2 separate regions of the Homo sapiens genome follow, and region 2 is linked to region 1. Evidence: promoter capture Hi-C in 16 types of primary human blood cells and fetal thymus (Javierre and others, 2016). All regions are on one chromosome and are shown on one strand. The core of a region is centred on a gene start or on the middle of the fragment in contact, and the rest is flanking DNA. Distances in the headings are between cores, read along the strand shown. Region 1 holds the start of EVX1 (even-skipped homeobox 1). Region 2 holds the start of LOC100506236 (a long non-coding RNA gene).

Region 1 (7,192 bases), core at 3,217-5,716:
CTCCTCGCACACATCACTTGCTAATCAGGGTGTGTGCTGGGCCCAGGGAAAAAAGGCTTGGCCTCATAGAAGCGGCAAAGGGCTCCTGGGGCATCTGCAGCCTCCCTGGCCAACAAAAAAGTGGGGGCAGGGAGAGATGGAGCCGCAAGTTGAGAAGTGTCACAAAGCTGGGAATGAGGAAAGAGATCAGGTGCTGGCAGACGCCAGACCCAGAAGATGCTGTGTAGTCGAGGCTCCAGGTCCCATGCCAAGGGGCTGGATTCTCCCTGGTAGTAAATCATCTCTCACTCTCTCCTCCAAATGACTGGTATGTTGCCATCCACCAGCCCCTTGTCATGCCTTGGAAAAGCTGGCAAAGATTAATCTCTACCTGCTCTGCATACACAGCATTTTGTTCAGAGAGACAGCAATTTCCCTTTCCAGTGCTTGGGCCTTGGCTGGGGAGAGGGGGCCCGGTGAGAAGGGAGTGTGAGGTGGAGGGTGAGGGGCCGAGGGGCCGAGGGACTGGATATTGGTTGCTGTTGCTGCTAAGTTTTGTTTAGCTTTGGAGCTACAGCCTCGACCCTGGTGGGGGGCGGTGGGTCCGGAGGCTGCCCCGGAGGAAGGTCTCTCAAGCTCTGCTTCCCTATCCCCACTCCTGCTCCCCAAACGCGCCAGCCACCGCCACTTCCTAGGCTTTCCAATTCTTGCGGCCGGATCCCGCTGGTCCTTTTCCGCCCTCTCCTTTCCCCCTTGGCGTCCTAGGGGCGAGGAGCGAGGAGCGAGGAGCGAGGCTGGCTGAGTCCCGGGGCCGGGGGGTGACCCCACGGGCGTCATGGAGCCGGCAGCCAGCCGGCGGCCCCTTATCTAGTGAGGGGCACCTCCTCCCTCTGGTCCAGCGCGACGGAGGAGGCCTTGCTGAGCACCGAGGGCGCGAAGGTGAGGAAGGAGTCCGAGCGGGAGGTGGAGGCACAGGTGAAGTCCGAGGCGGCGGCAGCCCGGGGCGCCAGCCCGTTGGCCGGGCCGCTGTGACAGGCGAGGCAGGAGCAGGGGCCGCCGGCAGAGGCGCCCAGTCCGTGCGCGGGCCCGGGGTAGAGCGGCGGGTGGCGGAAGGCGCACAGCAGTTCGGGCCGCGGGTAGGGCTGCGACAGCACGCGGAACGTGTCGAGCGGGCGCAGCGAGCCGCTGAAGGGCGAGGCGGCGGCGGAGGCGGCGGATGCGGCGCCCAGGCCCACCGGCGAGTAGTAGGGCAGGGGCAGGTGCGATGGGAAGGGGTAGGGCAGGCCGCCCGCGGCCGCCGCATGGCTCATCATGTAAGTGTAGAAGGCGGGGTCCGCCGGGTGCGGCCACGTCATGGCCAGGCGCTGCCGCTTGTCCTTCATGCGCCGGTTCTGGAACCACACCTGGGGAGAGGAGCGGAGCAGGTTCAGTAGCTGGACTTGGCCCGATGCTCAGAGGCCAGTAGTCTGGTCCCGCTCCGGGGACAGTGTTCGCAGGGCAGGAACAGCCAAAGCAGACACCAGCCGGGTAGAGACCGACCCCACCACCACCACCTGGAGCTGGAATCCCTCCGAGAGAGGTTTGGGGAGTGACTCCAGCCCGCTCCCTCCTTCCTTCTGCCCAGGTGGCCAGGCCCCCGGGGTGCCAGAGGCCAGTGTGTGTATGGGAGGAGCAGTGAAAGGACATGGACTCAATTGGTCTGCGGCCGCAGAGAGCGTGTCCCCAGAAACTTCCTTGTCACCCGCACAGGCACTCTATCCCCTTCCCCCACGCCCACCCCTTGTCTATTTAACCAGGAAAGGGACAGAGTCAGCCACATGGCAGCAATGCCTGCCTAGGAGCTGTCACGAGGGTCAATCTGCACGCGCCGGGCAGGGAGACCCCAGGCCCAGATTCCTGGCCTGCGTTTCAGGGAGTTGGCAGTTGGCATTTACTTCCCGCTAAATAGGTGCACACCCGCCTCCCCAGCCTGGACCCCGCATACCTTGATGGTGGTTTCCGGCAGGTTTAGGGCGGCCGCCAGCTCACATCTCCGCGGCCTGGATACGTAGTTCTCCCGGTAGAATTCCTTCTCCAGCCGCGCAATCTGCTCTCGGGTGAAGGCGGTGCGGTAACGACGCATCTGGTCACTGGCGCTGCACGCCAGGGTGCCTTGCGAGCCGCCCCCACCACTGCCGCCGTTGCTCTTGGGGGTCTCGCTCCCTCCGTTCGGACTGCCGACCAGCGCCTCGGAGCCGGACCCTGCACAGCGAGTCCAGAGCACAGGCGTGTACAGACACAGACACACAAACGCCATTGAAGTGGGGCTGTAGGCCTAAGGTGGGAGGGTGATTTGGGAAGGGACACCCTGTCAGCCACCTCAGTAACTGTTTCTGCTAGGGTACTGCGGCCTCTGGGGAACCCAAGAAGGGAAAATAAGGGCCTGCCCTTGATTGGGTAGGTAGAGGTCTTTGGGGAGGCCTTCCCTTCCTCTAAGGCATCCTGGGTACAGGGGTTCCCAGCCGCCCTTCCCACCTGCCCTGGAGCATAGGTGAGATTTCTGCCTCCCGTTGGCAGGGCGTGCACTTCTGACAGGCACATGAGTTGAGATGCACCTTTGTGCTAGAGGGTTGTAAACTCTGGGTCAAGTGCATTGTAGTATGCTGGGCATTCAGAGAGTTTCCTTGCTCTTATGTGTGACGGGCTGCCAGAACAGGTGTGGGAATGTGTACTAGGTTCCGTGTATTGCAGGGCTGGAGTGAGAATGCATGTTGAGTATCTTATTTATTACCTTAGTATATGTGAGTGGAGTCCAGGTTGTTCTGAGGGTTATGGGAAGGAGGCTGGGTGAAATCGGTGATAAGATAGTAAGGGGTAGGTGCAGGTATTCAACAAGGCGTTGGCTGCCAAGACCAGGGGGTGGTCTTTCTCCCCCCCGCCCCCAGGCTCTTTCCACCCACTCCTACAGTTCTGTGGAGGAGTGTCTGCTGGTGGGCTCCCCTCTCCTCCCCCCCACCAACCCGCGCCCAGTTTTCTACCCCCTTCTGGGGAGGTGATTGTTGGCACAGAGGGAAACTCCCTTCCGGGCTATCCACCCCTTTCCCATTAGCCTTTGGTGGGGAGGGGTTCTCCAGTTAAACCAGCCCCCCTTTGGGCCTACCTCTGAGAAGGGTGGGGCTCCAGCCCCCTGCAGCTCCTTTTCCTTTGGGTGGAGAAGTGGGACTAGGAAGGAAAGGGGAAGGGGGGAGGACCCGATCTCTGCCTTTTCAAATGCAACCGGAGACCAAAGGCAATTAGACCATTGGGACCATTTCCGACCTGGCGCCGCGAAGCCCGGGAAGTGACAAGGTAATTTGGACCTCTGACCGACGTGCAAACTGGTCGGAGGGCTGCAGCACCCGGGCTGCCCAAGTGGGCCGCAATTTTACGGTCCTTTATGGACTCCTGGCTTCCGCGCCTCCATGCCTCTTACACCCTGCCAGCCACAAACTGCCCGGATCGGCGTTTGATCTTGCCCTCGCCTGGGGAAAGTGTCTTCCCCGAGCAATTGAAGCATTCCCCGAGCAGTTGAAACACTGGGTGCTTGGGGTGAGCTTCGAATCCCCCAAGTCCAGGACTTGCATCCGCCCCCTCAGCACCCCGCACTCAAGGCACTGCTGTCACCCTCAGTCCCGCCAATGCCAGAACACAGTAGGAGACCCCCGCCAGAACGCAGATAGCAGAGAGAGTTGCTCAGGTGGGTCCCCCCAGCCATCCTGCCCTAGGGGAAGGGAGTGTCTTCCTCCTGGCCTGCGCCGAAGTGAAGGGTGGGCGCAGTGGGAGGCCCGGGGAGCGGAGGGGCACGGTGGCTACCTTTGCTGTGCTGGTACTCGGCGTTCCCGGTGGCGCAGTCCGGGGTGCAGCTCACCTCGATTTCTTCATAGAAATCCGACTCGGTGTCCGAGCTACTGGGTTGCCCCTGTCCGGAGAGGCTGTCGACTGAGGGGGCCGGGGGTCCTGGGCCGAGCATGGCCGCCCCAGCTACCTGGGGCTCGGCGCCCGGCCCCGCCGCGCTGCCTGCGAGTCCATCTACCGGCTCCTCCTCCGGGCCTCCCCCGCCGCGCTCCCGGGTGGCCGGAGGGACGGCCCGAGGGCTCAGGCAACCACGGGGCACCATTTTCTCGGGCGGCTCCGGCAGCGGGCTGCCCACGGCTTCGGACAAATTTGAGACTCTCTTGCCAACCAGAGTGCCAAGCTGACCCCCATCCAGAAACACAACCATGTCCTTTCGGCTCTCCATCCCGGGGCTCTCCGGTGGGGGAGGGGAAAGCCCCAAGTGAGTTCCTAACCCCGGCTCCCTGGGTCTCCAGCGGCCGGACGGATCTTGGTTGCAAGAGGGAGAAAGAAAGGCCGGGTGCCTGGGAGGGCGCGGAGCTGCTGGAGCGCGGTCTGGACCGCGACCGCGGCGGTGGCGGTGGGAGCTAGGGTCACCTTGTGAAGCGAGCGCTCCTCTGTGCCGCACCGCCTCTGGGAGGAAGCCCCATTGCCCTCTTCTTTCTAAGCTGTCATCCTCCTGCTGCAATCGTCATTACAGTACCGCTGGTGACGCCACTCGGCGAGCGCAAGTGGATAAATAGAAACGTCTGCCACAGCGAAGATGAAAGGAAACCCGCAGCTAATGGCTCGGCAGTGATGCGCCAGGTGTGGGCCTCGCTCGATTGGGGAGGAGAGTGTGAAAACAGACAGAGAGACACACACACTGAGAGAGGGAGACACCCAGGCAGAGGGGATGCAAATGGAATTCCGCAGAAAGAAAAGAGAGCTTAACGCGCGCGGCGAGTTCCGCAGGGGCAGCGGGACTCGGTAATTAAATAAGCTTTTGATTTTTTCTTTTATTGTTGTTTTGACTTTTGTTTTCTTAACTTGGTGCCTTGATCTAACACCGATGAAAGAATCCATAACTGCATTTTAGAAGTGTGAAGCCCGGCTTACAAGCCTCAATTCTGTCGGCATTATTACAACTGTCTGCCCCTGGCAGCTAACCTCAAACTGGCTGAAAAGTCTTTTTACAAGCTACGGAAAAATGTATTCCCCCGCCCCAAGTTGACTGGAGAGCTTGAGGCTGGGCCATCTTTTCCTCTTTTCTCCTCCCTCTCCCTACCCACCTCTGTCTCCTTACTCCTGCGAACCAAACTTTGCTATTTTTCTTCCCTAAGGGGCAAGAAATAAATACCTTATTATTATTTTTTAATTTAAAGACCCGCCTTGGCTTCTGTAAGAGTGTGTGCTGATTTCTTTTAAATACCTCCTTCCCATCTAGATGGCCTTAAGTTTTCCACAGCCTGGCTTCATCTTGAGATGGCTATTCGTACAAGAAGTCGCTTTCCCGTTTGCCTGGACCTCGCCTGCACTCCAGGTATGTTGGGTGGGGAGAGTTTCTAAGAGTTGTCTTTTTTTTTCCCTTGCCCATATTTTAAAGTATTCGTTCAGAATCAGCGAAGTCTCCTGGAAAGAGGTTTTTCGAATGAAGAGGCGCCAGGAATGCGGCCCCTGCTGTGGCAGTACTGGAGGCCCCTACTTGGGAGAAGGCAGTAGCTTTCACCGCGCTATTTTGGGCAGGGGTTCAGCCTCCCCGAGTACAAAAAGGTTGGGGTTCATAGAGGTTTGACTCATAAGGTCCTCTCCCAAGTCCCTGCCTAGGGGCAGTGGTACCTGTCTCCAAAAGTGGATGGCGTTTGAGGTAGAAGAGAGTGAAGTCGCTGAAAATGCCCTAAAACAGCAAGTAAGTAGGGACTCTGATGAAGGGCTGGAGGTGGGGGCAGGGGTTGTGGAACTTAATATCTGGAAGCTGCCATAGGCCTCTCTTGGCTCCTCTCCCAGGGAAGAAGCTGGTATAAAACTCCTTCAAACTGACCCTTTTTGAGCTCCAAGCAAGTGTGCTGGGGCCAGGTGGGTGGGCTGAGTCTATCCCCACATTGCTGAGAGCAGGAGGTGGGCACCTTCTATGCTCAACCCCCCTTTCTCCGCCTCCTCCCGAAGAGCTTCTAGCCCTAGGCAGCCAGCTGCAAAGGGCAGCCCAGCACCTCCCTCCTTTCTGTGTCCCTAGCAAAGCCCCAGCTTTTACAGGTAAGTCCTCTTCCGTGACCTTTTTATCTGTTATCTCCTACTTTTCTCTCCTCCTTTTTCTCTTTCTGTATTCTTCTCCTTCTTTGCTTCTCTCCTCCATCTTCCTATCCATAGGGTTAAGGAAGGTAGAGGAAGTAAGGGGTCCAAAGAAAGACAAAGTTTCCTCTTCACTCCGGCTTTCCACTTCTCTTTCAGTCTAAGACGATGTTCATTAATCTTGCCTGGGGGCGGAGGCAGCGGGATCCGGAAGGTAGTGTCCACATAGATATTTCTACTCCTTGGGACTCCTGAAGCCACTATATGCTGAGCACTGCTAGCCCCAAAATCCAGGGAAATGTTTTAGAGGTGAGAGGATCAATTGGGAGTGAGGGGAGTCAAATCCTAGAACCTTTTCCTGCCTTGGAGAGCTGTCCAGGTATTCTATCTTTCTCTGTCCTCCCTACCAGCAGCCACAGCCTGAGGGAGCACCTGGCTTGCTCTCTTTCCTGTCAATGGCAAGCCCCCTGGGCATCTGTCTTAGAGCTTCCAAGGTTGCCTACTCTCTATAGGGCCCTCCAGCACTGGGCCTTTGAGGTGCCCACCCTCCTTTCCTCCTTGAGCGCTTAACCTTCTCGTGAGTAGCCTGCTGCCCCCATCTCCTGGGGGCTGGGTCCTCAGAGGGACTCCTGGCTCCCCACCCCGCCCCCAGCTCTGCATTCAATGGGAATCCTCTGTTTGATCCGCTTTTCTTCTGGGTGAGATGAAAGCCGAGTAGGAGTGAGAGATCAAGGAGTGCCACTTAGTCTGCTTCCTGGGTCGGGCCCTACGGAGCAGGGCTTACATCCCGCGGAGAGGGCTGGATGGAGCTGAGGACCGGCTTTTCAGAGGGAGGTTGCCTCCCTTGGGCTCCAGATCTGAAGCTTCAGGGACACATCCCCTCAGCCCAAAGCCTTCCCCAGCCCTCTCCCGACTTCTGCCCCGCTCTTTCAAAGCTGACTGGCCAGTCTTAGGAGCCTAGGGAACCACACCCACCCCCGCCCCTTTCCACCGGCGCATTAGGGGGAAAACGTTTTAACCAAATGTCACTTCTTCCAAAAGCATCCTTTCATCAACCTCACATTAAGAGCGGTTGGGTTTTTAAAGGAAAGAA
Region 2 (7,192 bases), core at 2,955-5,454, 1.4 Mb after region 1:
GGGGGAATGTGAGTCGCAAGACTGGAACTCAGGAGCTCACCAGCTAGAACACCAACTGCTTACTCAGTATAAAGATATTAACATAGTTTGCCTATTCTCAATTTGTCCCACAAGCATTTTACAGGGGGAAATTATTGTATTAGTTAATTTTTGCTGCATAACAAACCATCCACATTTTAGAGGCCTAAAACCACAAACATTTATTATTTAGTGCGTTATTCTGTGGCTGGCTGAGATGGCTGGGAGAGTTCTGGCCCGGGCAGACTCGGCTGGAGCTAGATGGTCTAGCATGGACTCAATCACATAGTTGGGTTGGCAGGCTGTTGGCCAGTGCCTTGGCTTTTCAGTATGTTTCCTCTCTAGCATCATAGCCCTATCTTGGGCTTATTTGCCTTAAGGTCTCATGGTTTCAGGTGCAGAAAGAGAAAACAAGATTTATGTGCAAGCGTTTTTCAAGCCTTTTTTGCTTGCATCATATTTGCTAATATTCTGCAGGCCAAAGCAAGTCATATGGCCAAACCCAGATCAAAGGATGAAAAAAGAGACTCTATTTCTTGATGGGTGGGGCAGAAATATCACAGGGCAGAGGGGCATGCAGACAGGAATGGAAAGAATTATTGGAACCATTTTTGCAAATAAACCAACACAATTTCATATATAGATGTACAGTCAAATTTGGGAATCTTTAAAAGTCCCTGGCAGATTCCTCCACAAACCCAAGGCCCACACAACTTGTAATTCATGGGAAGGGGGAGCTTCCAGTTATGGGCAAGTATTGTAAATAATACTTTAATGTACTTCTTTGTGTATATAGTTTTTAAAATATTTTGAGTTATTTGGTCAGGATAGAGTCCCAGAAGAATTCTTGGGGTAATGAAAACGAGTATTTTTATGTCTTTTAATATTTGCTTTCCAAAAAGTTGTGTTGAATCATGTCCTGTCAGCAATGTATGTTTGATTACCTATTTCACTATACTTCAGTGTTAAACTGAATGTTAACATTAAGAAAATTTTATAGTGAAAAGTTAAAAAATGGTATCTAATTTCTAGGGGTGTGGATTCTGCCATAAGAGAATTCTGCAGACTGGGTGGCTTAAACAATAGAAATTGATTGTCTGCTAGTTCGGGAGGCTTGAAGTCCGAGATTGAGGTGTAGACAGGTTTAATTTCTTCTGAGACCTCACTCCTCGGCTTGCAGATGGCGGCTTTTCTCTGTGTGCATGAAGCCCTAGTGTCTCTTCCTCTTTTTATAAGGATAACAGTCATATTGGATGAGGGTTCCACCCTTATGACCTCATTTAACTTCAGTTAACTCTTTGAAGGCCCTATTTTTCCAAATACAGTTACATTGGTAGTTAAGTCTTCAACATAGGAATTTTTGGGGAACACAATTCAGTCCCTAACAGGGTGGATCTAAAAGCTGTATGTGGCCTGAAGCTTATACAATTTTGGGGCCTTCTTTAAAAAGAATGTAAAATCACGCATACAAAATTGCTAGGTCCCCTGCCTAGGGTTTGGGAAGGGGCCTGTGCAAGCGAAGGGCCCCGAGACTTAAGGTTCATGGCTTACAATGAGCCCACCTCTGCTCATTGTTGTTTTTGTGCTTTACTTAACAGAGGGCATGATTGCTACTTGCTTGTATTTGCCAGATATAGAGTTAAGGCTATTGGTTTGATTATAGAGCAACAGGAGAGCAGTGTTATCATTTAGGGTGGAAGGGTCTCAGGTTTAAAGCTTTGAGTTTAAACAGACACTTAGGGTTTTTAGGAGGCCTTTCTTGTTCTAGTGGAGCAGAAAAGCACTTGCGTGGTATGTTTTTGTGACAATAAAGTCATGAAAGAGTGTGTCTTATTGTCGAAAGTGCCATCTCTCCCATCTGAGCACCGACGGCTAAAACATGATCAAGAGGGGACACATCTTCATTCTTTAGTTAGATACAGGGCTTAGAATTGAGGTACCCTTGGGAGAAGGAACACACCAACTTAAATTTGCATTAAGTTATACATGCCTGACGCTAGATTTTCTGGGAGCAGATTTTCATATGGGGAAGCAAGATGGTATTAAGTACGTAAACACGTGTGTTTGAAGAGAAGGTACTGAAAAATGGAGATTGAAGTGCAAATGACAAGCTTCACTTTAAAAAAATTTAGATAGGGCAGTGCTGCTTTCAGAGGACTTGGTTGATGTGTCTTAGTAGAGACCTTGTTCGCGTGGGGAGTCTGTTGTTTCAGAAATGTGTTTCTGCTGCTATTTCTGCTTCCAAGAATGTCAGATAAAGGGGCCTGAACACAACTGGGGACATGTGGGAAGGGGGAGCCTCTAGTCATGGGCAGGGGTGGGGCTGTGATGTAACAGGCATTGGCTTAGACCAATGGGAATGCAGAAACAGATGGATGGGGCAGAGATCCTTGGGTATAATGACTAATTAAGCATGATCTTTAAGTAGAGGTTGCAGGAAGTTTGGGGAGTTGATTGGTAGGACTGAGTAGAAAGCAGAAGTAACACAGGAGGTGGAGGTAAAGAGAAGAGAAATTAAGAAGGAAAATCTCATCAAATGACATATTTAAAGATAAATTAATTAAATACAGAAAAGGTAAATATAATTTTGTTTTCTTCTGGCTAAGTAATATAGATACTTCACATAGCTATGGAGATGATTATTCAAAATCACCGTGAACCTCTTGGCTTCTGGAAGATAGCCAATGTGATTCCCAGAGCTTAGAGGGGCCTGTCTTAACCACCAAACTGAGTTTCCACTGACACCGATACGAAACATGTAGAAAAATATTAGCATTTCCTATTCAAACAAATACGATATAGTCTGGGGACATAAGGTTATCTAATTTTCTTCCAAAAAGATAACATTTAAGAAAGCACATAGTTTAAACAGGAAAAACACTTTGCACAATGTGACCCACTGATCCAAGCCCGGGTAGTTCTCATTGCCCGGGGAGAACAAGCAGAGCATTGTTTCAGCGATGAAAAGAAAAACATCCTCTGATTTTCCAAGTTTGTTCTGAACCAAATTTTTGGTTGAAATAGAAAGATGTATTTTTTTTCCTTTTCTTGCCACCCTTCTTTATTTTTTAACCCATTTTTTAATGAAGCTATCTAAGTGGATGTTGAAACAGTGAATGTTAAGAAAGAGTACATTTCCTATGTAAACAAACACAACCCGGCTTAGAGAGAGAGGAAAGCAGTCTTGTCAACCCGAAAGGAACCCAGCACATGGTAATTTTTGTAATTGAAGTATCCCAGGGATTCCAGGGTACATGAACAATCCATAAAACAGGAATGAGACCACACAAAAACACAACCATGGCTCCAGGCGGGCACTGTTGAAAAGAAGCAGACTTTTAGCAGTAGGAAGCAGGGAGCTTGCATCAGAGGATCTTTGTAAATGCCCCTCTAAAATTAAAGTCCTCTCTAAGCTCCTTCCAGGTAAAAATGTTGTTTACTGGGGCTGAAGGCTGTGAAACACGAGCAATATAGAGAGGAAGACAAAAAGACTGGTGAGGTCATGACCTTGAGCCTTTTTGTTTTCTTTCTCAAGGTCTTTTACATGCATCGTTGGATTGCAGTCTCAAGCCTGGGATTCCAACGGAATTAACGTCCATTGAAAACTTACTGTGCTCAAGGCACAGAACGGGGTAGTTTTATACACATTCTCCCATTTGGATTTTTCAAAGACAACATCTAATCATCCCCAGAGAAATTTCAGCTGAGAAGACAGGATGGTGAGACAGTTCCTAAGTCTTTCCTAGACACAATTGTCTTTGCAAGTCCTCTGCCACAGTCAAAGGTGCTTTCTTGCCTACCTACTGGTAAAATCCTTGACTGTCCGATTTCTCTAAATAACTATAATTGGAGCAATCAGATCATTAAAAAAAAACAGCAGGAGAGATGTTAATGTTCTAAAATACAGTTTCCATTCTAATTGCAGATGAAGTGCCCTGGGGGCCAGAGTCCAGACAAGTATTTTGGCACCTCCAAGGACTCGCAGAACACAGAGAGGAAAAGAGAGACCCTGTTATCTTTCCGCAGGGGTGGCCGTTCAAACTCTCAGAGATGGAAGTTAAGATTTCCTTTGGTATAAGTGGCAGTTTGACTGGCTGCAAGGAGAGCCTCAGTTTGTTTAATTTGGAGTAAAATTTTATGAGTTAATCTCTAGTGAGGGAAAGCAGCAGTAAACACAGAACATACTGGTCATTATTCTAAGTATTTCTACATTCTTTCTCATGCATGAAAGGAGAAAAAAAGTCACAAAAATGAGGAGGCATGGTGCTCAAACATGTGTGTGTGTGTGTGTGTGTGTGCGCGTGTGTGTGTGTGTGTGTATGATTTTGTTTTGATCAAACCATCTGGTGTGCAGCATACCCCAGGATGTGAAGGCAAACATTTACCAAGAGATTCACATGATTTCTGCTGTGTATACTCATATTTGTAGAAGACGCTTATGTTTTCAGAAAGTGGAGATAAACATAGATCTCTCTGCATTTATTAATGCAGCCCCAGTTCTTTGCAGACCAAACCGTTATTTATTTTAGTGGGCCTTAGAAACTCAGGTGTGTTAAAAAGCCAGAGAGACATGCACAATCTGGAAATGATCAGTGTCATGCCTGAGGAAAACATTACCGTGCTCCTCAAGTTTAATAATATGGGCAAAAAATTCAGGGATATTGCGATACGATGGTGTGCTGAGAAGTGGATTAAATCTCGATTAAATCACAACATAAATAATGCCTTAACTAAAAATGTTAAAGGCGAACTTGAAATGGTCTTAAAAACAAAAGAGGTAATTTACCTGATTTATTAGGGGAGAGAAAAAGTAGCTTGGTGTGTGTTCTGTGGATTTCATGTTTAATGGGATGGACTTTTAGGGAAATGGCTGGGGATCTGAGGAAGCTAAACGAAAAACCCCTATATGCTGGCTGGAGTTTTAAGAAGATAGAGGGAGGGAAAAATCACCCATCAACCAACCAACCAAACCAAACCAAGAGTCTGAGTGCCCCAGCACTGGAAGCAAGACAATTGTTTCCTAGGGGACTCCTGGCTACCAGGAGACTGCTCAATAAGGGAGCGCTTAAACTTCAAAAAGGAAAAAGCAGATTTATTAGGAGGCACACATGAGGCTTTAAGGGAATGCTCCTGGTAAGTGGGACTCCTGCTGTTCTCATTCTTGTGCCTTTGTATTGCTGAAAACCCTTCTGCAAGATCCAAATATGCCTTTGGTTTTTTTTTTTTTTTTCCACGTGTGTTGTCACTTGAACATTTTGCACCACCCATCTCTCTGAAAAGTTCAGGATGTAGGGTACTTCCTTTTGAAGGTCTCTCAATTCTTCATAAGGAACTGATCATATTCAGCTTCACTATGGGGGGGCAGTCCTGGGGTGGGCTGGGGGTGCTGGCACACATGTTCCTAGTGGGTCATGTGTCCCCGTGGGCAAAGGATAACACCTCTTGGGGCTCAGTTTCCTCATCAGTAAATAGAGAATCTGCTCTTTAAGGGCCTTGCCAGGTCTAAGATCCTGTGATTCTCAGTAGGCCAGAAAACACAACTTCTGAGCAATCAAACCTCTGAGTGACAGGATGGAATATTTTGCCAAAGGTCATGCAGCAAATGCTTGTCAGTCCTAAAGAGAACTTGAGACTGTACCTGTCTTGTGACAGCTGGACTCTGACATCTGACAAGGCAGGGGACTTTGCAGGGCAATGGCCACTCTTGTCTTGCTGACCATTGTCTGCCTAGAGCATGTGCCATGTAGTAGGCAGAAGATATTTGTGAAATCAATCAATGAAAGTTTAAATAGAGAAATAAGGGATTTCCTAGGAGCAACTCAGTTTTGAGAGTCGAGTTCTCTCAGCTGTCTGGCGGGGAACCCCATGCAAGCAGTTAGCATGAACTTGGTGTGGAGGAGGGTAGATGCCCCAGCATGCTAGAAAAAGACTTGGCAGAATGATAGTTTGAGAGATTAAAACATTTCTGTCATTGAGACTGGTGGCAGAGCCTGGACTACTGTGTCACCGATCCAGACACAAAGTGTGATAATTCTGGAGGCAGTACAAGGAAAATTGGATGATAGCTTTGACTCTGGACATTGATGAGTAAATTGACAAACCTTGAACTGTCTAGGGTTGTGCAAGAGTCACCAAGACTGATCAGACAGATGAAGAAAGTATGTTGCTTGCTTGAGACTCTTCATAAAACACAAGTCACGTGTCTTTGAATTAGCACGTTGTGACACACTAGACACACACCAACAGGAAAGGAAAGCTTTGGGAGATGATACTTATCTTTATTCTGTGCAATACAATCTGATATTTTATGTTCTATTTTGTTTTTATTTTAGTTTTTTCTTTATGAAAAATTTTAATTTTTAATTTTTATGGGTATATAATAGGTGTATACATTTATGGGGTACATGACATATTTTGCTACAGGTATAAAATGTTTAATCACATCAGGGTAAATGGGGATATTCATCATCTGAAAAATCCATCATTTGTATGTGTTATGAACATTCCAGTTGTGCTCCCTTAGTTATTCTAAAATGTACAGCAAATATTGCTGACTGTAGTCGCTCTGTTATGCTATCAAGTATTAGATCTTATTCATTATATATAACCATATTTTTGTGCCCAATAACCATCCCCATTTTCCATCTCCCCACACTACCCTTCCCAGCCTCTGGTAACTATCATTCTAGTCTCTATTTTGATGGGTTCAATTGTTTTAACTCCCCCAAAATGAGTGAGAACACATGCAAAGTTTGTCTTTCTGTGTCTGGCTTATTTCACTTAACATAATGCCCTCTAGTTCCAACCATGTTACAAGTGACAGGATCTTATTCATTTTCATGGCTGAATAGTACTCCATTGTGTATATGGACCACAGTTTTTTTATTCATTCGTCTGTTGGCAGACACTTAGGTTGCTTCCAAATCTTGGCTATTGTGAATAACATAGGAATGCAGATATCTCTTTGATATACTGATTTCCTTCTTTTTGGGTATATACCTAGCAATGGGATTGCTGGATCCTATGGTAGCTCTATTTTTAGTGTTTGAGGAACCTCCATACAGTTCTCCATAGTGGCTGTACTAATTTACATTCCCACCAACAGTGTGCGAGGGTTCCCCTTACTCCACATACTTGCCGGCATTCATTATTGCCTGTCTTTTGGATAAAAGCC

What was found. The method cuts DNA at HindIII sites, captures the fragments that hold promoters and counts their contacts. A CHiCAGO score of 5 or more calls a contact.
Region 2: a fragment that was not itself captured here is called in contact with the fragment with the promoter of EVX1 in region 1 in 2 of 17 cell types (naive B cells and total B cells); the score reaches 13.2 in naive B cells.

What each region holds. Positions count from the first base shown.
Region 1 is chr7:27,240,076-27,247,267 of GRCh38, reverse strand. EVX1 (even-skipped homeobox 1) reads right to left here and starts at 4,466. Exons shown (of 3, transcript NM_001989.5): 1 at 3,811-4,466; 2 at 1,964-2,220; 3 at 1-1,382. The coding sequence starts at 4,237. The coding sequence ends at 843. EVX1-AS (EVX1 antisense RNA) reads left to right here and starts at 39. Exons shown (of 4, transcript NR_120507.1): 1 at 39-307; 2 at 5,258-5,353; 3 at 5,627-5,719; 4 at 5,818-5,839. RefSeq lists enhancers at 831-1,440, 1,441-2,049, 3,971-4,848. The HindIII fragment of the contact is 5,233 bases long and covers 1-4,815 here.
Region 2 is chr7:25,828,311-25,835,502 of GRCh38, reverse strand. It overlaps LOC100506236 (a long non-coding RNA gene), which reads left to right and starts at 2,419. Exons shown (of 3, transcript XR_108752.5): 1 at 2,419-2,593; 2 at 3,554-3,737; 3 at 3,944-4,212. RefSeq lists an enhancer at 4,831-5,403. The HindIII fragment of the contact is 4,145 bases long and covers 2,132-6,276 here.